2 separate regions of the Homo sapiens genome follow, and region 1 is linked to region 2. The links are contacts of gene promoters, found by promoter capture Hi-C in blood cells and fetal thymus (Javierre and others, 2016). All regions are on one chromosome and are shown on one strand. Each heading gives the region's core, a stretch centred on a gene start or on the middle of the fragment in contact. The rest is flanking DNA. Distances are from core to core; before and after follow the strand shown. Region 1 has its middle 59 kb from the start of OR4C46. Region 2 holds the start of OR4C15 (olfactory receptor family 4 subfamily C member 15).

Region 1 (5,305 bases), core at 631-3,130, 1.0 Mb before region 2:
TTGATTGAGCAGTTTTGAAACACTCTTTTTCGAGAATCTGCAAGTGGACATTTGGAGGGCTTTGAGGCCTCTGGTGGAAAAGCAAATATCTTCATATAACAACTAGATAGAAGAATTATCAGAAACCACTTTGTGATGATTGCATTCAACCCACAGAGTTGAACATTCCTTTTGATAGAGCAGTTTTCTAACACTTTTTTTGTAGAATCTGCAAGTGGACATTTGGACTGTTTTGAGGACTACGGTAGTAAAGGAAATAACTTCATATAAAAACTAGACAGAAGCATTCTCTGAAACTTCTTTGTGATGATTGAGTTCAACACACAGAGCTGAATATTCCTTTTTATGGAGCAGTTTCAAAACACACTTTTTGTACAATCTGCAAGTGGATATTTGGACTTCTTTGAGGATTTCGTTGGAAATGGGATAAGCTTCACATAACTAAACAGAAGCATTCTCAGAAAATTATTTGTGATGTTTGCATTCAATGAACAGAGTTGAAACTTAATTTGACAGTGCAGGTTGGAAACAGTCTCTTCGTAGAGTCTGCAAGGGGATATTTGGACCACTTTTTGGCCTTCGTTTGAAACGGGTATATCTTCACAAAGAAACTAGACAGAAGCATTCTCAGAAACTTCCTTGTGATTTCTGCATTCAACTCAGAGAGTTGGAAGTTCCTTTTGTTATAGCAGTCTTGAAACACTCTTTTTGTATATTCTGCAATTGCACATTGGCATGCTTTGAGGTCGATGCTAGTAAATATCTTCATATAAAAACTAGACAGAAGCATTCTCAGAAACTTCATTGTGATGTGTGCATTCAACTCAGAAAGTTGAACATTTCCTTTGATAGAGCAGATTTGAAACTCTCTTTTTGTGGAATCTGCAAGTAGACATTTGGAGCGCTGTGAGGCCTGTGGTGGAAAAGGAAATATCTTCATATAAAAACTAGACAGAAGCGTTCACAGAAACTACTCTGTGATGATTGCATTCGACTCACAGAGTTGAACATTCCTATTGATAGAGCAGTTTTGAAACTCTCTTTTTGTAGAATCTACAACTGGATATTTGGACCTCTTTGAAGATTTCATAGGAAACGGTTGTATCTTCACTTAAGTACTAAACAAAAGCATTCTCAGAAACAACTTTGTGATGTTTGTGTTCAGCTCACAGAGTTTAACATTGCTTTCCATAGAGCATTTTTGAAACTTTCTTTTGTAGTATCTGCTAGGGGACATTTGGAGAGCTTTGAGGCCTGTGGTGGAAAAGGAAAAATCTTGACATAAGAATTAGAGAGAAGCATTCTCAGAAACTACGTTGAGATGATTGCATTTGACTCATAGAGCTGAACATTCCTTTAAGAAGAGCAGTTTGAAACACTATTCTGCAGAATCTTCAAGTGTATATTTGGACCTCTTTGAAGATTTCTATGGAAAAGGGAATACCTTCACATAAAAACTAAACAGAAGCACTCTCAGAAACTTCTTTGTGAAGTTTGTATTCAACTCACAGAGTTTAACACAGCTTTTCATAGAGCAGTTTTGAAACATTCTTTTCTTAGAATCTGCAATTGGACATTTGGAGCACTTTGAGGCCTGTGGTGGAAAAGGAAATATATTCCCATAAAAATTAGATAGAAGCATTCTCAGAAATTTCTTTGTGATGATTGCATTCAACTCACAGTGTTGAAGATTCCTATTGTAACAGATGTTTGGAAATACTCTTTCTGTAGAATTTGCAAGTGGATATTTGCACCTCTTTGAGGATTTCATTGGAAACGGAATATCTTCACCTAAAAATTAAACAGAAGCACTCTCAGAAACTTCTTGTGATGTTTCCATTCAACTCACAGTGTTGAACATTCCTTTTGATAGAGTAGTTTTGAAACACGCTTTTTCTAGAATCTGCAAGTGGACATTTGGAGGGCTTTGTGGCCAGTGGTGGAAAAGGAAATATCTATACATGAAAACTAGATGGAAGCATTCTCAGAAACTACTTTGTGATGATTGCATTGAACTCACAGAGTTGAACATTCCTTTTGACAGAGAGTTTTGAAACACTCGTTTTGTAGAATCTGCAAGTGGATATTTGGACCGATTTGAGGCCTATGGTAGTAAAGGAAATAACTTCATATGAAAACTAGGCAGATGCATTCCCAGAAACTTCTTTGTGATGATTGAGCTCACCTCACAGAGCTGAACATTACTTTTGATGGAGCAGTTTCGAAACAAACTTTCTGTAGGATCTGCATTTGGATATGTGGACCTCTTTGAGGATTTCTTTGGAAATGGGATATATTTCACAGAACTAAACAGAAGCATTCTCAGAAACTTATTTGTGATGTTTGCATTCAACTCACAGAGTTGAAACTTCCTTTGATAGTTCAGGTTTGAAACACTCTTTTTGTAGAATCTGCAAGTGGATATTTGGACCACTGTGTGGCCTTCGTTCAAAACGGCTATACCTTCACATAAAAACTAGACAGAAGAAAAATCAGAAACTTCCTTGTGATGTCTGCATTCACATCAGAGATTTGAAACTTCCTATTGATAGAGCAGTCTTTAAACACTCTTTTTGTAGAATCTGCAACTGGACATTGGCAGCACTTTGAGGCCTATGCTAGCAAAGGAAATATCTTCATATAAAAACTAGACAGAAGCATTCTCAGAAACTACTTTGTGATGTGCGTATTCAACTCAGAAAGTTGAAACTTTCTTTTGATAGAACAGTTTTGAAACTCTCTTTTTGTATAATCTGCAAGTAGACATTTGGAGCACTGCGAGGCCTGTGGTGGAAAAGGAAATATCTTCACAAAAAACTAGACAGAAGCATTCTCAGAAACTTCTCTGTGATGATTGCATTCAACTCACAGAGTTGAACACTCCTGTTGATAGAGCAGTTTTTAAACACTCTTTTTGTAGAATCTGCAAGTGGAGATTTGGACTGCTTTGAGGCATATGATAGTATAGGAAATAACTTCATGTAAAAACCTGACAAAAGCATTCTCAGAAACTCATAGAGCTGAGCATTCCTTTTGATGGAGCAGTTTCAAATCACACGTTTGGCATAATCTGCAAGTGGGTATTTGGACCACTTTGAGGATTCCATTGTAAAAGGGATAAAATTGACGTAATTAAACAGAAGCATTCTCAGAAACATCTTTGTGAAGTTTGCATTCAACACACAGAGTTGAAATTTCCTTTGATAGTTCAGGATTGAAACACTGTTTTTGTAGAATCTGTAAGTGGATATTTGGACCACTTTGTGGCCTTCGTTCGAAACGGGTATATCCTCACATAAAAACTAGACAGAAGCATTCTCAGAAGCTTCTCTGTGATGATTGCATTCATCTCACAAGTTGAACACTCCTTTTGATATATCAGTTTTGAAACACTCTTTTTGAAGAATCTGCAAGTGGAAATTTGGACTGCTTTGCAGCCTACGGTACTAAACGAAATAACTTCATATAAAAACTAGACAGAAGCATTCTCAGAAAATTTTTGTGATGATTGAGTTTAACTCACAGAGCTGAACATTCCTTTGGATGGAGCAGTTTCAAAACACACTTTTTGTAAAATCTGCAAGTGGACATTTTTACCTCTCTGAGGATTTCGTTGGAAACGGGATAAATATCACATAAATAAACAGAAGCATTCTCAGAAAATTCTTTGTGATGTTTGCATTCAACTCACGGAGTTGGAACTTCCTTTAATAGTTCAGGTTTGAAACACTCTTTTCGTAGAATCTGCAAGTGGATATTTGGACCAATTTGTGGCCTTCATTCCAAACGTGTATATCTTCACATTAAAACTACACAGAAGCATTCTCAGAAACTTTTCTGTGATGACTACGTTCAACTCACACAGTTGAACACTCCTTGTGGTACAGTAGTTTTGAAACTCTCTTTCTGTGGAATCTGCAAGTGGATATGCGGATCTCTTTGAAGATTTCCTTGGAAACTGGATCATCTTCACAGAAAAACTAAACAGAAGCATTCTCAGAGACTGATTTCTGTTGTTTGTATTCAAATTCTGGAGTTGAACTTTCCTTTTGAAACAGCAGCTGTGAAACACAATTTTTCAAGAATCTGCAAGTGGACATTTGGAGGGCTTTGAGGCCTGTGGTGGAAAAGGAAATATCTTCACATAAAAACTAGATAGAAGCATTCTCAGAAACCATTTTGTGGTGATTGCATTCAACTCACAGAGTTCAACGTTCATACTGAAAGAGCAGTTTGGAAACCCTCTTTTTGTAGAATCTGCAAGTGGAGATTTGGACCGCATTGAGGCCTATGGGAGTAAAGGAAATAACTTCATATAAAAACTAAACAGAAGCATTCTCAGAAAATCCTTTTTGATGGTTGAGTTTAACTCACAGAGCTGAACATTCTTTTGATGGAGCAGTTTCAAAACAGTCTTTTTGTAGAATCTGCAAGTGGATATTTGGATCTCTTGGGAGGATTTCATTGGAAATTAGATAAAATTCACATAACTAAACAGAAGCATTCTCAGAAACTTCTTTGTCATGTTTGCATTCAACTCACAGAGTTGAACCTTGCTTTCATAGTTCATGTTTGCAACACTCTTTTTGTAGAATCTGCAAGTGGATATTTGGACGACTTTGTGGCCTTCATTCGAAACGGGTATATCTTCACATGAAAACTAGACAGAAGCATTCTCAGAAACATCACTGTCATGATTGCATTCAACTCACAGATTTGAACACTCCTTTTGATTGAGCAGTTTTGAAACTCCCTTTCTATAGAATCTGCAAGTGGATAAGTGGACCTCTTTGAAGATTTCTTTGGAAACAGCAATGTCTTCACATAAAAACTAAACAGTAACATTCTCAGAAACTTCTTTGTGATGTTTGTGTACAAGTCACAGGGTTTAACATCGCTTTTCATAGAGCAGTTTTGAAACATTCTTTTCATAGAATGTGCAAGTGGACATTTGGAGTGCTTTCAGGCCTGTGATGGAAAAGGAAATATCTTCACATAAAAACTAGACAGAAGCATTGTCAGAAACTACTTTGTGATGATTGCATTCAACTCACAGAGTTGAAGATTCCTTTTGAAACAGCAGTTTCAAAACACACTTTCTGTGGAATCCAGAAGAGGATGTTTGGACCTCTTTGAAGATTTTGTTGGAAACGGGATAATCTTCACATAAAAGCTAAACAGAAGAATTCTCAGAACCTTCTTTGTGATGTTTGCATTCACCTCACCGAGCTGAACTTTTCCTTTGATAGAGCAGCTTTGAAACACTCTTTTTGTAGGATCTGCAAGTGGATATTTGGAGGGCTTT
Region 2 (5,331 bases), core at 1,685-4,184:
GTGCATTTTAAAATATCATGTCTGCACTGAGACAGACCAAATAAAATATTTAACATTTTTCAAAATTTATTTTTATTTTTATTTTTTTCTCTTTTAAAATTTTTTTATTATACTTTAAGTTCTAGGGTACATGTGCACAACGTGCATGTTTGTTACATACGTATACATGTGCCATGTTGGTGTGCTGCACCCATTAACTCGTCATTTACATTAGGTATATCTCCTAATGCTATACCTCCCCCCTACCCCCACCTCACAACAGGCCCCGGTGTGTGATGTCCCACTTCCTGTGTCCAAGTGTTCTCATTGTTCAATTCCCACCTATAAGTGAGAACATACAGTGTTTGTTTTTTTGTCCTTGTGATAGTTTGCTGAGAATGATGGTTTCCAGTTTCATCCATGTCCCTACAAATGACATGAACTCATCCTTTTTTATGGCTGCATAGTATTCCATAGTGTATATGTGGCACATTTTCTTTTTTTTAAATTTTTGATTATTATACTTTAAGCTTTAGGGTACATGTGCACAACGTGCAGGTTAGTTACAGATGTATACATGTGCCATGTTGGTGTGCTGCACTCATTAACTCGTTATTTAACATTAGGTGTATCTCCTAATGCTGTCCCTCCTCACTCCCCCCACCCCACAACAGGCCCCGGTGTGTGATGCTCCCCTTCCTGTGTCCATGTGTTAAAGGATGAGTAAAACCACCTTGGTCTTGGTAAAGCAAAAATTAGTGTAAAAATGTTATTTCTGCTCTGTGTCAATGGCTCTGAGGGCTTGTTCTCACCACTCATCATGATCTTCTATGCTTCTTACTGCATCAGTGCTTTTGTGTGTATTGCTTTCTTATACTCACAAGATATGTATAGATAGACATCATATCCATTTACTGAAGTGGAAGCTGAGGCTTTGAGAATGTTAAGAATTTGAAGTGACTTGTTCTAACATGCCATAGAACAAGTAGGAGAGCTTGGATTTGAACCTACGTCTATATGAGTCTGGAACTGAAGTTCTTACTCATTTCACTTCATCGTATTTCCCACTTTGGCTCTCGGCTAAGCTGAGCACTGTTGGATCATTTACTAACATGCTTTCCTTTGCAATAAATGGTTATTGACTTATCTAATAACCTTATAAGGTTTGTTCCAGCTCATATTTTCCTGATGATAACTTATAACTGTATATGGAATTCCTAGTGCAGACACTGGTTACAAATGAAACTGAAAACATAATGGAAATGATTGTTTTAAAATAAGCAAAAGAACATATATTAACATACACAATTGTATATTTGTTAGTTTTATTAACATTTTAAATTGTTTCTGTTAACTCCAAGTGACATTCATAAAAATCAGCTTATTTAAATCTCAAAATAAATCTCTTTATTCTTTTTTATTCACTTATTTTTTAACAAAGGTGTATACACATATAAATATACACATATACAAATATTCAAACACACACTTATATATGGTAATTGAAAAACACATTTCAATTATATATATATAGGTGAAGACAGAATTATCCTTTAAAGCTGTGTCTGCCTGTGGAAATGAAGTCAAAAGTTGGAGAGTAATTATCTAGATGACTCATGAAAAAGCTTTTTGTAGATAAGGTGGCTGACTTTTTAAGTGAGTAAATACAATTGGTAAGAGCACTTTATTATAAGTAAAATTTTCACATTTTCAAATCTGACCATCATCATAATCCTGAGACATGAGCAGGTAAGCTATATATAAACACCTCTGCTACACAATAATGCATATAAAGTTGAAATATACACTTCTTTTAGGAATTAAACTTCATTAGACCTGATTACTTTATATAAATAATTGGAAAATAATTAATAAAGCCTCAAGATTCCGGTTTATATTCAATATATTGTTTCTCTTCCTTACTTATGTGGTTGATGCCAATTTGTACATGCAAGTGTTTGTAGAAAGGCCATTCCTACTTTGAAGTTCTTACTGGAAAAGGAATATCCCCACTCCTTTCCCTGCTGATCTAGTGGAAAGGAATTGGGTGTTGGAGCCTGAGATTTTGTGTTAATATCCCAGATTGTCTGTTATTTGCTTAAACTTAACTTCTTTAAGCATGAGTTTCCCACCAATCAAATAGGAATAATAAGACCTAATGCAGACCATTCCCTAGGGCAGTCGGTCCTTAGCCTTCCATTGTTTCACCAGTTATCATAACAACATTCTGTTGTAGGCATTATTACTTTTATAATAATAATAAACTTCTGTTTTCATTTTAAAATGACAGATTTAAGAAAACACTCCGCACTTAATGCATACTTTTTATGTTTTAAATGTCAGGCTAGAGATTTTTCTAAAGATCTTTCTCTTTTGTAAAGAATGAATTCAGTTAAGACTTTTAAAGAAATATTTGAAGAGCAGCCATAATTTTTAAGTGCCTCTTGAACTATACGCTGTTTTCTTCTAGTTGCAGATAAAGCAGTCTCCCGATTAGGAATGGGATGCTGGTCATCCCTGCTCTCATTTGATGCCAATGGCAGAAATAAGTAATAAGTTACAATGCTCCTTCTCTCAAAATTTAGAGGTAACTTCAGAATACTTCTCAATAATTCACTCCAGGAAGCCACTAGTAAATGATCAAAGCTGGCACTTGATATGAAAACTCTTTCTCTTCTCTACCACATATCCTTCCCCCATATTGAACCTCTTGTTTCTTTCAAGTATTCTTTAAATTATCTCTATCACAATTCTGTCTGATATTTCAGTACTACCTTCAATAATTTCTAATTTATGTTCTCAATGACAACAGAAGCACTCAATAATTTTGCACTTGGATGTACCAACTTGTTAATGACTATGATACCACAAATTGATCTGAAGCAAATTTTCCTTTGTCCTAATTGCAGACTATACATGATCCCTGTTGGAGCTTTCATCTTTTCCTTGGGAAACATGCAAAACCAAAGCTTTGTAACTGAGTTTGTCCTCCTGGGACTTTCACAGAATCCAAATGTTCAGGAAATAGTATTTGTTGTATTTTTGTTTGTCTACATTGCAACTGTTGGGGGCAACATGCTAATTGTAGTAACCATTCTCAGCAGCCCTGCTCTTCTGGTGTCTCCTATGTACTTCTTCTTGGGCTTCCTGTCCTTCCTGGATGCGTGCTTCTCATCTGTCATCACCCCAAAGATGATTGTAGACTCCCTCTATGTGACAAAAACCATCTCTTTTGAAGGCTGCATGATGCAGCTCTTTGCTGAACACTTCTTTGCTGGGGTGGAGGTGATTGTCCTCACAGCCATGGCCTATGATCGTTATGTGGCCATTTGCAAGCCCTTGCATTACTCTTCTATCATGAACAGGAGGCTCTGTGGCATTCTGATGGGGGTAGCCTGGACAGGGGGCCTCTTGCATTCCATGATACAAATTCTTTTTACTTTCCAGCTTCCCTTTTGTGGCCCCAATGTCATCAATCACTTTATGTGTGACTTGTACCCGTTACTGGAGCTTGCCTGCACTGATACTCACATCTTTGGCCTCATGGTGGTCATCAACAGTGGGTTTATCTGCATCATAAACTTCTCCTTGTTGCTTGTCTCCTATGCTGTCATCTTGCTCTCTCTGAGAACACACAGTTCTGAAGGGCGCTGGAAAGCTCTCTCCACCTGTGGATCTCACATTGCTGTTGTGATTTTGTTCTTTGTCCCATGCATATTTGTATATACACGACCTCCATCTGCTTTTTCCCTTGACAAAATGGCGGCAATATTTTATATCATCTTAAATCCCTTGCTCAATCCTTTGATTTACACTTTCAGGAATAAGGAAGTAAAACAGGCCATGAGGAGAATATGGAACAGACTGATGGTGGTTTCTGATGAGAAAGAAAATATTAAACTTTAAAAAATCCAAAGTTAAGAGTAAAAAAGGTCAAAATGGCCTTAAATAAAAACTTAATGAGATACATCTTTCATGGCAAGAGATAAAGTAATGCTAGAAAAAAATCATTAATGTGGGATCAGAAAACTTATGTGTCCACCCTCAGAAAGCACAAATATGCACCTCCTCAGTCACCTATATAGGCCTAGTCTTACCCCGTGACTCCAAGGGCTCACAACCAACTGCATATTGCACCTCCACTCCCTTCCACCTCTGCAAACTAAGCAAGACATTCTCTCTTTTCTAGGACTAGTGGTTTATTTTAGGCTCTGGGTTCCCTCCTTCACTCTACTTGCCAAACCGTTATACCAGGCGGCTAAAGGCCCTCTCCATGAGCCTTTAAACCCCACACAGCCTATTACCCAACATTTCCATCCTCCAGAAGGCTCTCACATCAGCCCCCATTCTCACTCTCCCAGACCTCACCAAACCTTTCTCCCTCTATACCGCTAACCAGCATGGAGTTGCAGTAGGTGTTCTAACCCAGTCTAAGGGACCCATCTTCCAGGTTGTTGCCTACCTCTCTAATCAGCTTAAAGCTGCAGTTCATGGATGGCTTGCTTGTCTCTGAGCTTGGCAGCAGCTGCTGTCCTCACTCTTGAAAGCCTAAAATGATCTCTCCATGCCAACCTAACAGTCGATTCAACCTGAAACATCAAAGACATGTTAGCTCACTGCTGTGTACTAAGTCTCATCTCTGCCCCACAGCTCTTCCAACTGTATGCTCTATTCATAGAAACTCCCCACATTACCATGCTAACCAGCTCCCATCTAAACCCAGCCATGCTCTTACCTGAAGCTACAACCACCCAAGACCCTATACAATTCGGTGTGAATGCTGCTCTTACATTTTTCCAAACATAACAGACCAACACCTTCCAGATGCCTCCTTTACTTGGTTTGTAGATTACCCAGTCCTGCTCTGTCTGCTACTCAGTATCACCCCAAGGTTCCCTCCAGCCACAGCCTTTTCCTACCCACCAAGCCTGGGGCCTGGTATCCAGGCAAGATTGGCAAGTAGACTTCACTCACATACTGCCCAATAAATGGTTCTACTATCTTCTAGTCTTTGTCTGTACTTTCTTCGGGTTGGTAGAAGTGTTCCCAACAACTTCAGAACATGCAAATGTCATCACACAAACTCTCATCATGCATATAACTCCCCATTTTGAACTCCCAACATGCATCCAATCCAATAACAGGCCCGCCTTTTATCAGCCAAATTACCTAAGGCGTCTCTACACCCTTCAGGCCTCAATCTTCAGGCAAAGTTGGAAAGGTCAACTCTGTCCTTAATGCCCAACTCACCATGCTGGCCTTAGAAACCTGCTAGTCGTGGACAAAAAAAAAGTTCCCTTTTACCCTCGTGAGACTCCATGCAACACCAAAAGCACCCTTTTTATAGTCCCT

What was found. The method cuts DNA at HindIII sites, captures the fragments that hold promoters and counts their contacts. A CHiCAGO score of 5 or more calls a contact.
Region 1: a fragment that was not itself captured here is called in contact with the fragment with the promoter of OR4C15 in region 2 in 5 of 17 cell types (erythroblasts, endothelial precursors, M2 macrophages and 2 more); the score reaches 12.6 in erythroblasts.

Annotation. Positions count from the first base shown.
Region 1 is chr11:54,542,583-54,547,887 of GRCh38, forward strand. No RefSeq gene overlaps it. Among named protein-coding and RNA genes, the nearest start is that of OR4C46, 59 kb to the right of the region's middle. RefSeq lists enhancers at 2,230-2,751, 2,752-3,273, 4,317-4,838. The HindIII fragment of the contact is 2,894 bases long and covers 434-3,327 here.
Region 2 is chr11:55,551,535-55,556,865 of GRCh38, forward strand. OR4C15 (olfactory receptor family 4 subfamily C member 15) reads left to right here and starts at 2,935. Exons shown (of 1, transcript NM_001001920.3): 1 at 2,935-3,885. The coding sequence starts at 2,935. The coding sequence ends at 3,885. The HindIII fragment of the contact is 1,344 bases long and covers 1,603-2,946 here.